Linked DNA regions of Homo sapiens: regions 2, 3, 4, 5, 6 and 7 are each linked to region 1. The links are contacts of gene promoters, found by promoter capture Hi-C in blood cells and fetal thymus (Javierre and others, 2016). All regions are on one chromosome and are shown on one strand. Each heading gives the region's core, a stretch centred on a gene start or on the middle of the fragment in contact. The rest is flanking DNA. Distances are from core to core; before and after follow the strand shown.

Region 1 (2,723 bases), core at 126-2,625:
AAAATAGTACCTGTGGCTTTCCTTTGGAGGTGTTTCTCATCATTTAGAGGAACTCCATTTACAGGAGTTCTTACAGAGAAACCACATGGTGCAGATGTCAGTAAGAGGTCATCAAACCTGCCTCCATGGCTGTGGAGCTATTTATGCAGAGTTTGCTTCATTTCAGCTTCTGTTCTTATTGGAGCCAAAAAATGTACGTTCAAGTACTTAAATTTTTCCCATTTTATTTCAATCCTTAAAACTAACTCTTTCATAATATCAGTGAATTCATTCTTTCAAAGGAGAGAGACAGATAAGGAGGATTTCTATACAATTATCAAAGTGATACATAAATTCCCCTGTGGTAAAACAAGCTTATCCATATATCTAGAATAAATAATGTTATATACTTTGTGTTAATCACTAATGAATGTTCTTTTCTTAAAGAATAAATTTTCTTTTACAAATAAGTTTATAAGGTTTATCATTCCTTTGTTTCTTATAATCTGTAATTTAAAAATAAAACCTTTTTCAGATCATTGTAATTTTGTTAATTTAACTGCCTAAATATTGAATCTTATGTCCATACTCTCTTCCCTTGAGCATTTAAAAAATAGAAAGTTCATGTCACTTCATTTACCTCCAAGTCTTGCTCTGATAGAAATGTCTGGTACTTCCCTGGAATTCCATCTCCTGTTCTGTTGCAGTTCTTCTGATAGAATTTTTTGCCTTTTTATTGTTGTTTGAAATCCTGTGTCTGGTCTGGGAACTCGATGTTGAGGTTTCACATCACTAAAATCCACTAGGGTTGGTATGGTTCTGCCAATGCCAGGATTTAAATCAGCATCACCACCAGGACTCATAAACCCTGAACAGGAATCACCTAAGGTCACATCATCCCGAAGTGGAAATAATGGATAATGTGGCCCATATGGTGGGGGATAAGGATCATGTAAATGATAGTCTGGCAAAACTGAAGGGGGATAAGGGTGAAATTTAAGAAAAGCAGGGTTGCATTTCTTTTCAAACCTGCCATAGTTATGTCTGTTCTCAAGACCTTTCACAAAAGGCATGTTCATTTTTCTTAAGAGATCACAATAGTGTGGGTAATCTATATTCTCAACAGTTCCTGAAAGGATGGACCTTTTAGAGATACTTATCTTTCCAGGTGTGTCCTGAATTTCTACATCCATGGCCTTTTTCTTTAGAATTTTTGATAACTATAAAGTATTTCTGATAATTCCTTTATATTTAACTATATAAACTCTATTGCCAATAACTAAAGATCTGTGTTAAACTAGTATAAAATTGACACAGCTTTCTAAATGTTGGCAGATAATTTTGTTTTTCTTTTTAAGGCAAATATTTTCCTCCACCAAAGGAAGAATAGGGCAATGAAGGAACATGACATAAGGAGAATAAAGCAGAGCCCTTGTTGCCTGGCAACGGCTAGAATTCTTAACACATTGAACCATTTATTATGTACATCACAATTCTTAAGAAAAACAAAAATAGCCTTGGTACTAATATTTCCATGATACTTTTCTCCCCAGTGCTCAGGAAAGCTGTGTTCATTTACTTATTTTAAAATTTTTCCATAAGTTGGTATTTTATGGGTATAAAATATATTTAAGGAGTGTAAATAAAGCAGTTAATTCAGTGACAATACATTTCTCAAAAGTATATATGTGACTACAATTAAGTATTTATATATATAACACTTGCTATCTAATTAAATGTAAATCTAAATGCACTACAAAATATAAACATTACTAAAGTTAAATTGGTACATCTAATTTTTTTTTTTTGGTGGAGTCTCACTCTGTCGCCTAGGCTGGAGTGCAGTGGTGTGATCTTGGCTCACTGCAAGCTCCGCCTCCCAGGTTCACGCCATTCTCCTGCCTCAGCCTCCCAAGCAGCTGGGACTGCAGGCGCCCGCCACCATGCCCGGCTAATTTTTTGTATTTTTAGTAGAGATGGGGTTTCACTGTGTTAGCCAGGATGGTCTCGATCTCCTGACCTTGTGATCTGCCCGCCTCGGCCTCCCAAAGTGCTGGGATTACAGGTGTGAGCCACTGTGCCCAGCCCTAGTATATCTAATTTTTAAGAAAAACAGAAAATTATAATGAAAGTACAGGTACATCTTTACATGCCCTAAATTATCTTTACTTCCCTTAAATTTGCCATGGTGTCCAGAGTAAGAACAGTAAGAGTTTTAAGTTCATTTTAGGAAACCACAATGGGTATCAGTTAACTGTCTACACACAAAATATCATTTAAATCACTAATGTATTGGTTCACTTAAAAGCTCTTTCACCTGGATAATTTCATCTTGCATGAACTACTATAAGAGGAAATGCAAATATTAGAATTTGGGGTAAAAGTTCACATCATCCTTACTGCAGCAAAAATGTTAAAACAGGCAAGATTCTAGCTTTGAAGAGTCAGGCACATAATCGTTAATCAGGCCAACTGTCAAGGGTGATATGTTTGGTACAATCAGAATGCCTATGCCCCATTGAAAGTCTTTACAATTTTGAGATATACTATTAAACAAGTGAGATTAAATTAGGTGGTTAGGCTGTCAGTTTTAAATCCTTCATCCAGATCATAGCATATCAAGTGACAGTTTTTAGTCCACCCATGATCACTCATTTCTTCATATCAAAAGTGATAACTCACTTGTAATTAGGCATTCTACATTTAGTTGCTCAAACTTCATTCTTCAATGTATTTAAACCAAC
Region 2 (2,723 bases), core at 60-2,559, 500 kb before region 1:
CCCACTCCTAAATCATAAAGGGGTGCATTCATGTTGTCTTGTACTTGGATTCTTTTCCCCCCTCTCTCCTTCCTTCCCTCTGCTCCTCTTTCCTTCCTTCCTGCTCTCTGCATTCTCCCTTTCTTTCTTTTGTCCTTAGTTGGTTCATTTTTGGTCTTTGTTTGGTTTTGTTTCGATCCCAGATGCACTTGGGTTTATTTATCCTCACTGCTGGGTAGAGTATGGGTCTGATTTTATTTTGTTTCCCATGTGGCTTTACAATTGCTCCAAAACTCCTTACTCAAGATGTCAGCTTTATCACAGAGCAGTCTCTCAAAGCATTAGAAGCAACTCCTCCTCTAACTGTAAAACAGTATGTTTCTCCTCTAAAGTTTCTGGCATGCCTGAGGAGAGAAAAGCCTAACACAGAAATTTCTCTTTCTGTGACGTTTTTGAGTTAGGGGTATCTGTGTGTTCTGGGGCTTCTAATACAGTGTATACCTGCTTATACCCCTGAACCGTATCAACAGTGGGCCCAGAATGTTCTAGGGGGACCTCTGTTACCCTTGCCGTGTGTGGGAGGCAGCGCAGGCTCACTTCGGGGTAGCGTCACTCTGCTGGAGAATTGGCACTTCCACAGGAGGCTTTATTTGGTGCTGTGGCCACTAAGTGTCCTCCCCAAGGCCAGGGCAGTGAGGACGCCCATCATCCCGAGGCGAAGATGTTTCTGAACCTTGGGGGCGGGTGTGGCAGTCATATGTTTGAAGAAGCTTCCTGAGTGATTCTGGGATAAGGCCCACTCTGTCCACTTTGGATTGAAAGGGCTGCCTTGGGGTGGGGTGGATTGCAGGTCAGCACTGCTGGGCCACCTGAATTGTGTGTCAGCGTTTTGCTTCCCCCAGCCATGTTTGTCTTTCAATTTTTCTCGGATCAGAAACCCAGTTGGTGAGGCATCCGTCTTTCCAGACCTGTAAAGCGATAGAAGCATCACCTCTGTTACCTTCCGTTCCCCAAATCAGCCCGGCTGGTGCCGCCCGTCTTATTCTTCAGCAGGTGTTCCTCTCCGTCCTCCCTGGAGCCTTCCTCGTCTCCAAGGCTGTCATTTCCAGCTCCCGCCTTAGGCTGCTGGAGCGCTAACCACACACAGAAATGCAGATAATGGGATTGATTCAGGCGTTAACACAGGAACAGCTCATCTTCCTCTCAATTCTTGGGTGTAGGGAGGAGGTGTATTTGTATAACAAGGTAAATAATCCATTTCTAATCTTTACTGATCCCTGCAGAGATGATGAAGGCAAGCCAGTTTAAAGAGTTAAACAACAAAGAAAAGAAAACCACCTCGAAAAACAGCACAAGATTCTGGACAGACAGTATAACAACAGCATTTTCCATAGCTTTATTCTCAAACGGTGTATGCAGTTAGAAAGAGACATCAGAGCCTTAAATAAGCCCGTCAAGTATTCCTGAAATCCCAGGATCCAGGCAGCTCCCCTCCCATCCCCGTCCCCACCCATGCAGCTGAGCGTGTGCGCGCACATACTCGTGCTTTACCAGCCCTGCACTGAATTTGCCGCCTGCTTCCTTCCTGTCTTGCCACCCATGCCCGTCCCAGAACTGCAGGAGAAGGATCTTTTTAAGGGGAAATCTAGGTCTGTAGTCCTCTCTGCCAAACAATCCCACCCCACCCCCAACACCATGCTTATCCCCCCAGGGCATGTGGATGCCCCCCCTGCCATGCCCACACTCATGGTCCAGCCCCACTGGCCTTCCTGCTGTGCCAGGCATCGATCCCTGTGTCATCTGCCTGTGCAGTCCCTCTGTCTGCACTTCATGCCCCTCCACATGTTGGAAGGAAACCTCTTCGGCAAAATTTGAATTCTTTGAAGCTTTCCCTTCTCCCAACCGCAGAAAGAGAGGTGTTATCCCCAGGACTCACATAGCACCCTTGTAAGAGGGATACTTTCACTTTTCGTCTGCTTTTCCTGCTGAACCAGGAACTCCTCCATGACTGGCTGTGTGACCTTGGGGAAGTTGCTTAGCTTCTCTGTGTGTCACTTCCCTTATCATTGTGAAATGAAGATAACAGTATCACCATGAAGATGAATGAGTTAATACATGCATGAAACACTTTGCACGGTGTCTTGCTTGTAAACGTGGTCTAGATTGTACTCTGATCACTGTCGGGTCCTGTCACAAGGGGCTCTTCGTTCATTTATGATGGACTGGTGAGTGCACCATCCCTAGCATCGATTCTTAAGAACTTACCTGGTTCTTGCCACTGTCCATCCTGGGCCGTGTTTACAACTTCTGAGCCTGGTTAGTAGTCACTTAACATGCTTAGCTTCTCCCTGGGCATCTTTCCTATAACTGCAATCCCCTTAGAAATCACTGGATTGTGGCAGTTGGCTGATTGCAGTGATTGTTATTTCAAGCTACCTTGTATTGCGTGTGATCATGCACAAAGCTGTATATACATCAGCCATGGTCTTCTCAATGGTCCTGTAAGAGAAGAGTTATTCTGGCTGGGTGCAGTAGCTCATGCCTGTAATCCCAGCACTTTGGGAGGCCGAGGTGGGCGGGTCACCTGAGGTCAGGAATTTGAGACCAGCCTGGCTAATACCATGAAACCCCATCTCTACTAAAAATGTAAGAATTAGCTGGGTGTGGTGGCGGGCACCTGTAGTCCCAGCTACTTGGGAGGCTTAGAGGGGAGAATCGCTTGAACCTAGGAGGCGGAGGTTGCA
Region 3 (2,723 bases), core at 224-2,723, 470 kb before region 1:
TCCTAACATGCACACACACACACGCACTTATGGGGAATATTAGCACGCTTCTTCATCTCAAGCCCCCCCTCCCTCCCCCAGCCCATCTCCTAGAATGGATTCACTTGAATTCACTCCTGGTTTGCAGGAAAGTGCAGAAATCCAAGGAATGTGGTGGGAATTGGTGGTCCAACTTAAAGGGTCTAACCCTTTCACCCTTATCTCCCTCTGATCCATTTTCTACCCCAGAGCCAGAGTGATCTTAAACCATAAGTAAGCTAAGGTTACTGCTTTCTAGAAACACTTCAATGCCTTCTATTACAGTTGGGGGGATACAAATTACGTAACGTGGCTTGCAAGACTCCCCCTCCCCTACTTTGAATGGTCCTTAGGAGTTGGCCTTCTGTCAGGGCCTGGGAGATGCCGAGCTTGATCCTCAGTAACTTTGCAGAGGCTGTTCCCTCTTTGGAGCCCTTCCCTCACTCTTCCCCTTACCAAGGACAATCACTTCTTCGGTTCTCAGCTCCTGTGAGACCCCAGGCGGGAGCATTTGGGTGTGCGTCATTGGAGGGCTCACTTGCCATTCTTTCTCTTTTCCCTCTTTCCTCCAATGGCTCCTGTGGAGGTTTTGAGACTCCTCAATGTCACTCTGCTTCTCTCTCCAGTTCCAGTCCTAACAATAGGAACCCTAGGTGCCCCGCCCCAGCCTGCTCCAGTCCCCTAGGATAGAGCAAGGAGAGCTCTTCCCTGCATCTAGCCTGTGACAAATGGCTCTAGTGACAGCCCTCTCTGCCTTGTTTCCAGTCCTTTAATGAGCTGCCCGCAGCCAGCCTCACTCTCACTCTGCTCTTCACACCCACTGAGCCCCACGCTTGGAGCTGCTGGGGGTCTGCCAGAAAGACCAGCTCCTAAGATCCCTGCAGGCTGTGCCTGCTCAACTTCTCAATGTGGCTTTCTCAGCCCTGCTTTGTGCTCTCATAAAATTCTATCGACTTTGGGGTTTTTTTATAAATTTGTCCAAATTCCACTCAGAGTATTGTTTCATGCATCTCAACTATGATTTTGATGGGTTTGGGGAAGGAAGGTGAGTTCCTGGGTTCTGCTGATATCTGAACCTGGAAATCTTACCCATATTGCTGAGTGCTGCACCGGGAAGTGCAGGCTTACTTTGGGGCTGCCTTCAGGGGCAGGAGGCTGTGTGCAATGCAGGCATCACCTGGTGCAGGGCTGGAACATATCAGATGACTTAATGGGCTCCAAACTTGAAATCAGGGCTGCTTAGTAAAAGATGGGATGTATGTAGAATTACATAAGAAAGATCCAAGCTTCCAGGATTTGGAATGAAACAGTCTCTTCAGAATGTGCTCTCAGGATTCCCAGAGGCGAGCTATTTCTCAAGATTTCCTTGACCTTTGTCACCATCAGGAATTAATGTTTAACTGGCACATGTGGCTGGAAATGCAAGAAGAGGGAAACGTGTGGCTTGGAGTTTCAAGAAGAGTGACTGTCTCAGTGCCGAGTGCCTCAGCAGCTTCTCCACATGCTCTTCAGTCCCCAAAGTTGGAGAATCCCATCAAGGAGAGTAGCCCTGTAAGGAATTCGAATTTCCAGCATGTAAGTCTCTGATTTTATACCTACTCAGATTGTAGTAGTGGAAAACAGCAACATGTACCTTGACTCTCTGGCCCCATGTTACTGAACATTTGCTTAAAGGTTAACTCACTTGAGGGAGCTTGTGTGGTGCTTTCTCTTCTGCTGCAGGCTGGCAGGGGTTTTTGTTCAGTGGGGGCTGTGCACTTGGTGGCTCTCCATGCACACACAGTCACTCCAGTGACACATGTTTGATAGGTGCTGGGAATGATTTCATGACTGGCTCAGTAGCAAATGCGGGCCAGATGTGATTCTATTTTTTCCATGCACCACCAGGGATGGTGTTGGGTATTTTATTCCCCCAGCCTCTGTTTCTTCTGTAAATGAGGATTTTCTTAGTATCTACCTTGTGAGGATTAAATCCCATGATTTTATGGAGGTGATTAGTAAATGTGAACTCTGCCCTTCCCTTTATAACATCTGAGGCTCCGTCAGGGCTCTCTCCTTTTGGTGTATGTTATAGTTTACTTAGAGGTCAATTTGGTGTCTACCTATGCAGTGTGATTTGAGGAGAATTAGAAGATCTTTCCCACCAACTTGCCATGCTGAGTACAATTCCCATCTGAAAACATATGCGGATAGGAATTTCTATTGGGAGAATTGTTCGGTTATCGACTTCAAGGAGTCGAAGTTCTCCTGGTTTTAAGTCTGTTGTCGGAAGTATATAAGAATCAAAGCTTAATCGATGGAAATCATTGCTCTCCATCATGCGTGAGTTAAAACCATTACTTCTGAGTGGTCAGTTTACATTGGGCTCTGTCTAGAAGGTTTGCCTTCTTCACCTCCAGTCACATCCCCATTTCACAAGTGAGCAAACAGCCAGAGGAGGGGAGGAGGATGGCATAAGATCTTGCAGCTGGCAGAGACGAAATGTGAATGTAGCCCGTTTGCACTTGGTGCTGTCGGGCAGCCAAGCAATCCAGTGTGTAGGTCCAGGGCGACAAGCGCTGCTCCCATGGCTGGGGTAAGTCCCTCCAGCATTCAGCCTTGCTCCCTGTGCTTATCTGGATGCGGTGTAGGATGAAGATGACCCTATAGAACTCTACCCTGGAAGTCCTGGCAAAGTGGATATGTGACATTTTTGAAACCAGGGA
Region 4 (2,723 bases), core at 114-2,613, 440 kb before region 1:
TGTGAGCATTTCCCACTATTTAAATATTGTTTGAAAAAAGTATTACTCCATGATTTTCTATGATGCATCACAATCTATATAAATATATAAATAATACCTAAGATATTTGTGTTGCATCAAATTTTCCATTCTTATAAAAAAAATTTTGGAGGACACCCTTTAGGATGAAGTGCAACAATCTTCCAAGATGATCACCTTCCTCCTAGGACTCTCCTGGCTGTATTCATGTTTAACATTCATGCTCCCCACTAAATCCAAATGGAACAAAACAAAAATTGAAGCATTTCTAGGTCATTGCATCTTATAACAAAAACAATTTCATATTCAATTTTTTCAGCAGATGATTCCTCTAATTATATACTCCTCAAAAAAATCTTATCAATCCCTCATAATATAAGCTGTGTCTATTATAATAAGAGCTACTTTTCATTGAATAGCAATTATGAGCTTGGCTATGTTTTAGCCTATGTCTTGTGCTTTGTGTTATTGTCTTCATCCTCAAAGTATTTATGAAGATTGATTGGATTATGGACAATCTTTTTCATGGATGAGGATATTGAGTCCCAGAAAGTTAGTAGAACATGCATAGCAGCAAAAGTGAATTAAAGCCAAGGCTAGTAGGAAAGACAACCAGAGTTATGACTGTTACACCAGCTCATCCCTGACCATAGGCTTGGGTTGGTGTCCAGAGATGTGCATGCTACTATGGGCTGCATTTTCGTTTCATTAAAGACAACCTCATTTTTGAGAGACCATACAAGTCTTTAGCATTTGGGTAGGAATATTCCTGGCATCTCTCAGCCCCCGCTTTAACACAATCTTCCTGTGAGCCCAATCCACTCAGTTTTTTTCTGGATGAAAGGAAGAAATGGGATCTGTGTTTGCCACCGGAAGCTCACCCTTCTCAGCAGACAAGGCTGATTGTCTGTAATTGGTGAGGCCCCAAAGAGCACAGGAGCCTGGTGACAGCCTGTGAGCCAGCCTGCATTATTGATCCCCTCAGAGCTGTAATCACAGCTGTGGGCGTCAGCGCAGTGATGCGTGTCTGAGTCAAATGGCAAACTGTTGTTGTGAGGCTGGACAAATGTGGTCTGGGAAAATGGTCTCTTAATTGGGTTTTAAAGTTCTTGTGGAAGAAAAGACAATTTTTTGCTTCGAAAAAAACTGAAGATGAAAGGACATTTCTGCTCACGGCATCAGCAGCCAGAAGCGTCAGACCTTACCAGCATCCCCTCCTACCTCCTGAGCAGGCTTGCCATGGCAACCTTTGTCTGCTGCTATCGCACAGAGCCATCGTTCCTGCTCTGTACCACATGTCACCCTCCCCGTGCTTCTCTCCGCGAAGATCTGCTGCCAGCAAAGTGCAGAGAGCTCCACCTGACATCATGCTTGAGGCCACCAGGCCACCCTGGTGGCATCGGGGTGGTGTGGTTCTAGATGTGCTACTGACGATTTGCTCCTTCAGGCTTTTAAAACATCATTTTGTTGACTTAAGAAGGTGAATTTTCTCTTAGGACATGAACTAAGCTCCCCCATCCCCCCCCAGAGAAAAGCCATAATGAGTTGTCATGGTGATTCAGGTGATTCATGGTGACTCATTTCATTAGAATGTTCAGAGAATGAACACCTGCGTTCCAACGCTTCAAGCAGAGGGTAGAATTTAGCCGGGGAAGCTGCAGTCACGCCTGCTTGTCAAGCATCAGAACAGGGAATTGTGCCTTCCACCAGGCTTTTCATGTTACATTTCCAATGAGAATGGGTGGGACATGACAAACAAAATGTGTGTGGGGGCAGATAGGGGGACAGGAGGAAATCAGGGACAGGAATGATGGGGTACATAGGAGAAGTGTAAGTAAGGTACAATGCCTGCTCTCAGGGAGCCTGGGTTTCCTGGGATGGCTGATTTAGCTTTGCCAGCCAAAATTGGTTTCTCCCCTTCTCTCTCCTCTGGCCAAGGTTTGTAAACCTGGCCTAAAACAATGTCTAAAATCATTGCTCATGAAAATATAGCCTGAAGGAAATAAAGTACCCATTTTAGATGCTGAATTAAGAGACGCATATATCTGTATATTTGAACCCATCCATTAGTGCTACAGAAACATGAATAAATGTATTTATCTTTCAATATTACTGTCCCACCAAAGGATGTGGGTTGGCTCAAAAGAATAAGTAAAAGTAGTGTCAAGGCAAAGTCAAAATGAGAAATCAGGGTCAATGAAGAGAGCATCAAATGTTAAGAAGAGAGGTTAGCATTTCTACTTAATTATTTTATTATATATTTCTCTGTAAAAACCTATCATGTTATAAACTTTTTCAGAGTCAACAAGAACCTACCTTCTTTTATTTGCCCTTTCTAATGTCCTTTCATACTGGTCGGTAGATGGGTTTCTTCTACGACTTACTTAAGAGGGAAGGTGCTCGCTGCCCCTACCTTTCTAGGCCCATGGCACCCTAAAAAGCGCAGGCGTGGGCTCACTCCTAACCGTGCCCTACCTAGCTGCTGATTTGGGGCAAGTTAGTGAACCTCTCTGCACATCTGTTTCCCCACCTGAAGATGATAAAACACAAAAATGGGATTATTTTTACAACTTAAATGGGATAACATAGCAGGCCCTGAATCCATTAGTTTGCCAGGGGTTCCCTAACAAAATACCACTGACTGGGTGGATCGAAGAAGAATTTCTTTTCTCACAGTCCCGAAGGCTGCAAGTCCAAAATCAAAG
Region 5 (2,723 bases), core at 217-2,716, 400 kb before region 1:
ATTTTTGAGATGGAGTCTTGCTCTGTGGCCCAGGCTGGAGTGGCACAATCTCAGCTCACTGCAACATCTGCCTCCTGGGTTCAAGTGATTCTCCTGCCTCAGCTTTCTGAGTAGCTGGGATCACAGGCACATGCCATCATGCCTGGCTAATTTTTGTATTTTTATTAGAGATGGGGTTTCACCATATTGGCCAGGCTGGTCTCAGACTCCTGACCTCAGATGATATGCCCGCCTCAGCCTCCCAGTGTGATGGAATTACAGGCGTAACCCACTGTGTCCGGCCAACATTTCCATTTTTATTGATGGTGTTATATTACTAACTGTTGGTGGTACCTTAACAATTAAGTCAGCACCCTTTTACCTACTTTCCCTCTCCTGCTACCATTTTCCTATCACCAGATATTTAGCATTCTCCAACTCCAAGCGGGACTGTTCTGAGATCCTGAGCTGACCTTATTCTATATATGATTAGAATAATCTAACATAATTCAGATAAGTTATTCACCCACCATCATTTGACAAAGAAAACAAATCAGAAGATGGTTTTCTTCCAATTGCTGCCTTAGGAAAGACATTTTCTTTTTATTGCATTTGAAATGATTTGCCAGTGAGGGTATTCAGATTGGTCTGCTTGGATGGATCAGTTGTCTGGCAGGTTTTACTGAGAAGATGGAATACAAAAAGTGGATAGTTGAAGTCAGTTAGGTTGCCGATGGGGAAGTGGGGAAACTGAGGACGAGGGTATGGGCTGAGTTGGGGAGGCCATCTCAAGGTGTGAGGAAGGGAATAGCACAGGGCAGGCAGCCAAAGCTGCATCCTGAGGTGCCAGCATAACTGAGAGAGGACGTGCAGCTGGAGGGGCAGCCAGGCCTGCCGCAAGTTCCTGGGAAGTCTCAGAAGGAAAGAGTCACTGACAGCAGGAAGCTGGAGGGGTGTGAGCCTGTCCCATCCCTCCCCACTGAGGCAGCCTTGCCTCAGGGCTAGGTGTGCCCCTGGTGCATGCAACTTCTCAAGCTCTGGCCGAGGGTCTCTGTGTCTGCCTGGTTCCTAGATGGGCCGTGCTATGCAGTGTGTGCTGTTAGTGGATCACATATGAGATGCAGAATGCAGAATGCAGAGGCATGCCCACAGCTCCATGCATCCCCATGGAAACCAGAGAAGCCCTTCAGAGTCCACTTCCTTTAGGGGTCTGTAAGTTCCCTTCTGCAGGAGTTGTAGGCCAACTGCAAGCTTAGAGAGAACACAGTCCTCCACAAAGCTGATAAAAGACATAAGGCGTTTCAAAGCTTTGACTCAGTTTAATCATCAGGATGAAAGCCCTCAGTTGGATTAAGGTCAAGTGTGTCCTGCGGACACGGATATCCACCCCAGGGCATGGGAGGCCAAAGGTCACAGAGCAGTGTGGACCTGAACCGAGGCTTAGGGGCTCATCACTTCCCCCAGAATCAGTCTCACCTGGTGCTTGCATAACCCCAGATGGATGCAGCAGTGAGCCAGGAAGAGCACAAGGCCTTAGGATTTGCAGAGTTTCTCCCTGAGGAGTCACTCAGTAATCATGGGATGTCCATGCCTGTAGCTCAGATCAGCGGTAAGGTTGAGAAAAACCTCAGATCACATCATAAGATAGGTGTAAATTTGAAGCTTGCTGTAGTCTGAACGTTTGTGTCCCCCGCAAAGCCCATTTGCTGAAATTCTAACCTAAGGTGATGGTATTGGAGGTGGGGCCTTCCAGTGGTAATGAGGTCAGCACAGTGGAGCCCTCCTGATTGGAACTGTGACTAATTAGTGCCCCTGAGAGTCTCACGCCTCATTGCACAATGAGCACCATGGATGGTGAGTGAACGGTGAATCCATGGATCCCTACAAATGCATATGCTGACCCTGACACCTACCCCACGGTACCCTGACACTGGTATCCACCCTGTGAGGTGAGGGTGGCTCGCGCCCTCTCTGTGGTCCTTCACCCTTCAACTCTTACTCTCCTGGGTGCCTAGGGCTGAGAGGCAGCAACCATGGAAGCCACATTTATTTCTCCCCTACTCAGTGCTGGGGTCCTGGCAAGCACATTGTAAATATTCCCTTGCTCATCCCTTGGGCCTATGGGTACTATTTCATCTCCATCTTCCTGGGAGGAGAGTGAGGCTTGGAGAAGTAGATAGGGCCCCTTGGCTGGGGAGCAACTGGAAGCAGGAGTTGAGCCCAGATCTGTCAAAATTGAGGGAGCATGCTACATCTGTGGCTCTCCCAGCTCCTGAATGAGGCAGCCCCTGCCCACAAGGCTGCTATGCATGGTTGGAAAACAGAACCCTGTTCATGAAGAAAGCAGGGGATGGTCTAAGATGGTGTAAAGTAAAGAACTTCACCTGGTGGTGGGGATGGAGTGGGGCAGGTAGAGGTCAGCGTGGACTGTGTGCAGACCTCCCCTTGGATGATGTTTGGGGGAGGACTTGAGAATGGATTAGCAAAGGGAACCAGGAAGGGAATTCCAGGTGGGTGGAAAGGGTGGTGTCACTGGAGAGAAATGCAGGTGAGTAACATGAGGCTGTCACACGATGGTCCCTTGGAGTTACACTTAGCCGCCAGGGTCAGGAGAGAAAACCAAGTGGTGCAGTGGCTTCCATTTTCCCTGGTGTGTCTGGGGCCAGCAGCACACACACTGCCCTCAGCTTTAGACCCTTTGAATGAGGGGGCCTTTTGGGGATTCAGCCATTAGTTCAGCAAAT
Region 6 (2,723 bases), core at 106-2,605, 390 kb before region 1:
AGAAGATTTTTAAAGTGCTAGTCACCATGTTAACAGAGAAGGAGAAAAAAAGTTATCATATTAGATGCAGAAAAAGCATTAGATAAAAGTCAACAACATTTCAGGACAAAATGTCTTAGTAAAATCGGAACAGCAGAGAACTTCTTAATCTGATAAAAGGTAACTACCAAAAAACATAGTGAACCTTTACTTAATGGTGAAATATTAGAAGCACTCCCTTTAAAATCAGAAAAAAATGAGGATTCCCATAATCTGCACTTCTATTCAACACTGGACTTTCCTAACCTCCATAATAATTTAAAAAAAAAAAGATAAAGAAGTAAACATGTAAGGATCAGTATGGAAGACATAAAACTCTCATTGTCAGATGATGTAACCTCAATAAAAAGAGAATCCTCAAAGTATTATTAATAAAAGAACCCAGCAAGATGTCTAGATACACTAACATTTTTAAGGTTGCATTTTTTTACATCTACATTAAACAGTATGTGTAATTTTTACAAAGGTAACACTCTTTATAATAGCAAGAAAAGATATGTTTACTATGAACAAACATATCCAAACCTGTTCAGATTTATATGGAGAAAATTCTATAATTTTTTGGAAGTCATTAAAGAAGTCCTAAGTAGGATGATATGTTCATAAAGAAGACTCGATATTAGACCTCAGCACAATTCTAATAAATATCCTGGCATAATATTTATATGGGCCAAGAATAGCCAAGATAATTGTGAAAAAAAATATAGTGAGGAAGTTGCCTCCTTAAATATCAACGTGTGTGTGTAAAGTAACCACGACTGAACTCATGTAGCACCAGCGCGGGCACAGATGGGTAGAGCACATTAGAAGAGAGAGCCAGAAACAGACTCCACATATTCCAATTAGGGCTTCTAATGTTTACAGAATTGTTGCAATCCAATATGACAAGATAAGCAATCTAACAGAAAAATGAACAAAAAATTCTTTATCAAGGAGGAAACAGATATGCTTAATAAATACAAAGTTACTCACCCTCCTTAGTAATCAGAAATGTAAATTGAAATCCCAGTAAAACACTATAGGTTGTTTACAATAGTCTCTTCATACTAAACGTTGACCAGGATATGGAAGAGGAGCTCGCAGACTGCAGAACTGTTGTGGAGACTGATTTGGAGCTATTGAATACGGCCGTAGATAGATGCTTTCCTCCAACCTTAACATAGCTCACCTTGTGCTATTCCATTGGCAGATGCATGGCCGACGGGCGCTGCCACTAGGGGCTCCAGGAGTATGCACAGGGATGGTCCCATGTCCACATCAGTGTAGTTTGTCTATCAATAAATGGGAAATGATAGAATGAATGGATTGGGATATGTGCATGCACTAAAATCCCAGGAGGTCATACAAATGAGTGAGCAAGAGCCCTGCGCATGAATGAATGTGAAACTCATAGGTCTATTTTGGGGTAAGAAAGCAAATTATAGAAACATGCATGGAATTATAAAATTTAAGATAATACATCTTAAGTTTATGGTACAGTATGTTTAGCAGTGTGCAAAATAATATAGATTGCTTAGGGATTTGGAGAGAAAATTTTGTAGAACTATGTAAGAGTAGGAACACAAATTCAGCCTTGTGGCCTCTTGTGTGGGACAGGGAGAGGAAGTAGGTGAGGGACAGGAATATTTAACTTTTATTAATACTTATAATTTAAGTTTTATTTCATAAGCAGGGGGTGGTGATTTATTCTTTACATCTTTTGTATGGCTTTAATTAGTGCAAAATTTTTTAAATTAAAAAACAGCTGGAAGGCCCCTGCTGAGAATGAGAAGGGAAAGTGTGATCTTTGTGGACAAAGGGCAGAGTTCTACTGATAGCCATAAATATTCACATCCCTCTTGGTCCCCTCTTTTTAAGTCTAGGCACAGAGCTTTCTCTAATGCAGAGAGACCCAAAGGACCTCCCCCCACAACCAGTGGCTCCCCATAAAATGCCTATGATGCAAGAAAATTCCTATACACACAAAAAATTAGGTGCAATTTTCTTCCACAAGTCAAAGAAAGAATATACACTAGACAGCTTATTATTCCTACTGACTTTGTCTGTCTTTAACCTTAAAACAAAAATAAAGGCTCAATGACCATTTATAGATAAATCCAGCCTCTCTCTCACCTCCTTGGTAAGCCACATCTCAGCATCCTATTTTGTGCTCACTGGGTTCTGTCTTTCAGGGACTCTCACGTTTTATTTGTTTTCAAGCCTAAGCTACTGTCAGATTAACATTTCTTCTCTAGTTTGCCCTTAGGATACTTTATTTGCTACAAAATTGCTTTGTGATGGTGTCACCACACTGCCAATGAAGCAGAGCAATGGCAATTACCGTAAAGCACAGGCCCTTCAAAGGCCAGCCCAGTGAGAGTTTGCGTCCGAGTTCTGCAGAATGACTACCAGTGTGAGTGCTCTGTGTGCAGACAGGTGAAAGAGGACCCCTGTCTGCAGCCCAGGGCATCCTGGCCTTCTCACTCATTAGCCCTTGGGATTTTCACCCCACACACACTTACTGATGCCAGCAGGGCCAGTCACTGTGCTGTCCCTGGAAAGAGAGAGAGGAGCAAATGCTAACCTCTGTGGTTTTCCCTCTTGACACCAATTCTCCAACTCTGCAGACACCAGCTGGGTGTCCTAAACTCACTCCTATTCTGACTGTAACTACCTAGAGGTAGCGTCAGACTCCACAGGGTTAA
Region 7 (2,723 bases), core at 1-2,500, 350 kb before region 1:
TCTGTGACCTAGGATAGCAGCATCAAGGAGCATTGTGTACATGCAGAAGTGCACAGTACCTGGAGTGAAACTGCTTGTGTTCGATTTCTGATACCATTCATAACTGGCTGTGTGATCTCAAGTAAGTTCTTTAAGTCTCTCAGCCTCGGTTTGTACATTTGTGTGATAAGGATAATGATAGTTTTCAGATTATTTTCATAGTCATTGCTTGATTTGATTCTTCCAATGGTTCCTCTCACTTTGCAGATAAGAAAACTGAAGAACCAGCTGGGCGCGGTAGCTCACGCCTGTAATCCCAGCACTTTGGGAGGCTGAGGCGGGTGGATTACCTGAGGTCAGGAGTTCAAGACCAGCCTGACTAACATGGCGAAACCCCATCTCTACTAAAAATATAAAAATTATCCAGGGGTGGTGGCAGGTGCCTGTAATCCCAGCTACTTGGGAAGCTGGGGCAGGAGAAGCACTTGAACCCGCGAGGTGGAGGTTGCAGTGAGCTGAGAGCGCCACTGCCCTCCAGCAGCCTGGGTGACAGAGCGAGACACTGTCTCAAAAAAAAATAATAATAAAATAAAAATAAACCATCAGTGATAGTAAAAAGCTCACTTAAGCTCATTCACCTAGTTTTATAGATCAGACTTAAACCTCTTGTTTATTTTGTTTTGCTTTATGTATCTATAGTTCCATTGTTTTTAAAATTTAAAATTAATTTTAAACCTTATGAATGCTTTCCCTACAGATAAAATTATGTAACTAGAACAATTTAACTCATATAAATTATTATTTAATCAAGTCCTTAATTTTGAAGACTTCATATTGATATGTCTTGAATACTTGAAATCTATAGTTAACTAGATATTTCTCTTATAACCTGTCCTTATAAATCTACATTATAAATAAAAAGTCCAGTGTCCCTTCCTTCAGATTAGCAGAAGTTTCAAAATTACATTTAAAGTATTTTCTTTGTTTTCCTTCATACTGATTTTCATTTTTATTGTTTGTTATAGAACCTCTAAAATGCAGACCTCCAGCTCTAGATCTGTGCACCTGAGTGAATGGCAGAAGAATTACTTCGCAATTACATCTGGCATATGTACCGGACCGAAGGCAGATGCATACCGTGCACAGATATTACGCATTCAGTATGCATGGGCAAACTCTGAGATTTCCCAGGTCTGTGCTACCAAACTGTTCAAAAAATATGCAGAGAAATATTCTGCAATTATTGATTCTGACAATGTTGAATCTGGGTTGAATAATTATGCAGAAAACATTTTAACTTTGGCAGGATCTCAACAAACAGATAGTGACAAGTGGCAGTCTGGATTGTCAATAAATAATGTTTTCAAAATGAGTAGTGTACAGAAGATGATGCAAGCTGGCAAAAAATTCAAAGACTCTCTGTTGGAACCTGCTCTTGCATCAGTGGTAATCCATAAGGAGGCCACTGTCTTTGATCTTCCTAAATTTAGTGTTTGTGGTAGTTCTCAAGAGAGTGACTCATTACCTAACTCAGCTCATGATCGAGACCGGACCCAAGACTTCCCGGAGAGCAATCGTTTGAAACTCCTTCAGAATGCCCAGCCACCTATGGTGACTAACACTGCTAGGACTTGTCCTACATTCTCAGCACCTGTAGGTGAGTCAGCTACTGCAAAATTCCATGTCACACCATTGTTTGGAAATGTCAAAAAGGAAAATCACAGCTCTGCAAAAGAAAACATAGGACTTAATGTGTTCTTATCTAACCAGTCTTGTTTTCCTGCTGCCTGTGAAAATCCACAGAGGAAGTCTTTTTATGGTTCTGGCACCATTGATGCACTTTCCAATCCAATACTGAATAAGGCTTGTAGTAAAACAGAAGATAATGGCCCAAAGGAGGATAGCAGCCTGCCTACATTTAAAACTGCAAAAGAACAATTATGGGTAGATCAGCAAAAAAAGTACCACCAACCTCAGCGTGCATCAGGGTCTTCATATGGTGGTGTAAAAAAGTCTCTAGGAGCTAGTAGATCCCGAGGGATACTTGGAAAGTTTGTTCCTCCTATACCCAAGCAAGATGGGGGAGAGCAGAATGGAGGAATGCAATGTAAGCCTTATGGGGCAGGACCTACAGAACCAGCACATCCAGTTGATGAGCGTCTGAAGAACTTGGAGCCAAAGATGATTGAACTTATTATGAATGAGATTATGGATCATGGACCTCCAGTAAATTGGGAAGATATTGCAGGAGTAGAATTTGCTAAAGCCACCATAAAGGAAATAGTTGTGTGGCCCATGTTGAGGCCAGACATCTTTACTGGTTTAAGGGGACCCCCTAAAGGAATTTTGCTCTTTGGTCCTCCTGGGACTGGTAAAACTCTAATTGGCAAGTGCATTGCTAGTCAGTCTGGGGCAACATTCTTTAGCATCTCTGCTTCATCCTTAACTTCTAAATGGGTAGGTGAGGGGGAGAAAATGGTCCGTGCATTGTTTGCTGTTGCAAGGTGTCAGCAACCAGCTGTGATATTTATTGACGAAATTGATTCCTTGTTATCTCAACGGGGAGATGGTGAGCATGAATCTTCTAGAAGGATAAAAACAGAATTTTTAGTTCAATTAGATGGAGCAACAACATCTTCTGAAGATCGTATCCTAGTGGTGGGAGCAACAAATCGGCCACAAGAAATTGATGAGGCTGCCCGGAGAAGATTGGTGAAAAGGCTTTATATTCCCCTCCCAGAAGC

The links. Contacts are between HindIII fragments. The CHiCAGO score rates a contact against its expected background, and 5 or more counts as called.
Region 2: a fragment that was not itself captured here is called in contact with the fragment with the promoter of SPMIP7 in region 1 in 2 of 17 cell types (non-activated CD4 T cells and naive CD4 T cells); the score reaches 5.3 in non-activated CD4 T cells.
Region 3: the fragment with the promoter of DDC here is called in contact with the fragment with the promoter of SPMIP7 in region 1 in 9 of 17 cell types (megakaryocytes, activated CD4 T cells, total CD8 T cells and 6 more); the score reaches 8.8 in megakaryocytes.
Region 4: a contact is called between the fragment with the promoter of DDC-AS1 here and the fragment with the promoter of SPMIP7 in region 1, in 17 of 17 cell types (total CD4 T cells, fetal thymus, activated CD4 T cells and 14 more). The highest score is 23.9, in total CD4 T cells.
Region 5: a fragment that was not itself captured here is called in contact with the fragment with the promoter of SPMIP7 in region 1 in 2 of 17 cell types (activated CD4 T cells and total CD8 T cells); the score reaches 5.9 in activated CD4 T cells.
Region 6: a fragment that was not itself captured here is called in contact with the fragment with the promoter of SPMIP7 in region 1 in 9 of 17 cell types (activated CD4 T cells, total CD4 T cells, naive CD8 T cells and 6 more); the score reaches 9.4 in activated CD4 T cells.
Region 7: a contact is called between a fragment that was not itself captured here and the fragment with the promoter of SPMIP7 in region 1, in 11 of 17 cell types (activated CD4 T cells, non-activated CD4 T cells, total CD8 T cells and 8 more). The highest score is 13.3, in activated CD4 T cells.

The regions. Positions count from the first base shown.
Region 1 is chr7:50,094,535-50,097,257 of GRCh38, reverse strand. SPMIP7 (sperm microtubule inner protein 7) reads right to left here and starts at 1,375. Exons shown (of 9, transcript NM_001161834.3): 1 at 620-1,375. The coding sequence starts at 1,172. The HindIII fragment of the contact is 3,144 bases long and covers 356-2,723 here.
Region 2 is chr7:50,597,940-50,600,662 of GRCh38, reverse strand. All of the region lies in intron 17 of GRB10 (growth factor receptor bound protein 10), which reads left to right. Among named protein-coding and RNA genes, the nearest start is that of DDC, 34 kb to the right of the region's middle. The HindIII fragment of the contact is 1,116 bases long and covers 752-1,867 here.
Region 3 is chr7:50,564,155-50,566,877 of GRCh38, reverse strand. DDC (dopa decarboxylase) reads left to right here and starts at 1,473. Exons shown (of 15, transcript NM_001082971.2): 1 at 1,473-1,593. The HindIII fragment of the contact is 1,002 bases long and covers 1,307-2,308 here.
Region 4 is chr7:50,530,399-50,533,121 of GRCh38, reverse strand. It overlaps DDC-AS1 (DDC antisense RNA 1), which reads right to left and starts at 1,363. Exons shown (of 5, transcript NR_033845.1): 1 at 1,240-1,363. All of the region lies in intron 4 of DDC (dopa decarboxylase), which reads left to right. RefSeq lists enhancers at 714-1,913, 2,273-2,442, 2,291-2,460. The HindIII fragment of the contact is 9,169 bases long and covers 1-2,723 here.
Region 5 is chr7:50,499,352-50,502,074 of GRCh38, reverse strand. The region is part of intron 7 of DDC (dopa decarboxylase); the gene reads left to right. Among named protein-coding and RNA genes, the nearest start is that of DDC-AS1, 31 kb to the left of the region's middle. RefSeq lists an enhancer at 1-194. The HindIII fragment of the contact is 355 bases long and covers 1,289-1,643 here.
Region 6 is chr7:50,480,591-50,483,313 of GRCh38, reverse strand. All of the region lies in intron 9 of DDC (dopa decarboxylase), which reads left to right. Among named protein-coding and RNA genes, the nearest start is that of FIGNL1, 32 kb to the right of the region's middle. The HindIII fragment of the contact is 6,680 bases long and covers 1-2,723 here.
Region 7 is chr7:50,445,579-50,448,301 of GRCh38, reverse strand. It overlaps FIGNL1 (fidgetin like 1), which reads left to right. Exons shown (of 4, transcript NM_001287492.4): 3 at 13-121; 4 at 1,005-2,723. The coding sequence starts at 1,015. Among named protein-coding and RNA genes, the nearest start is that of FIGNL1, 3.4 kb to the left of the region's middle. RefSeq lists an enhancer at 752-1,951. The HindIII fragment of the contact is 2,949 bases long and covers 1-2,723 here.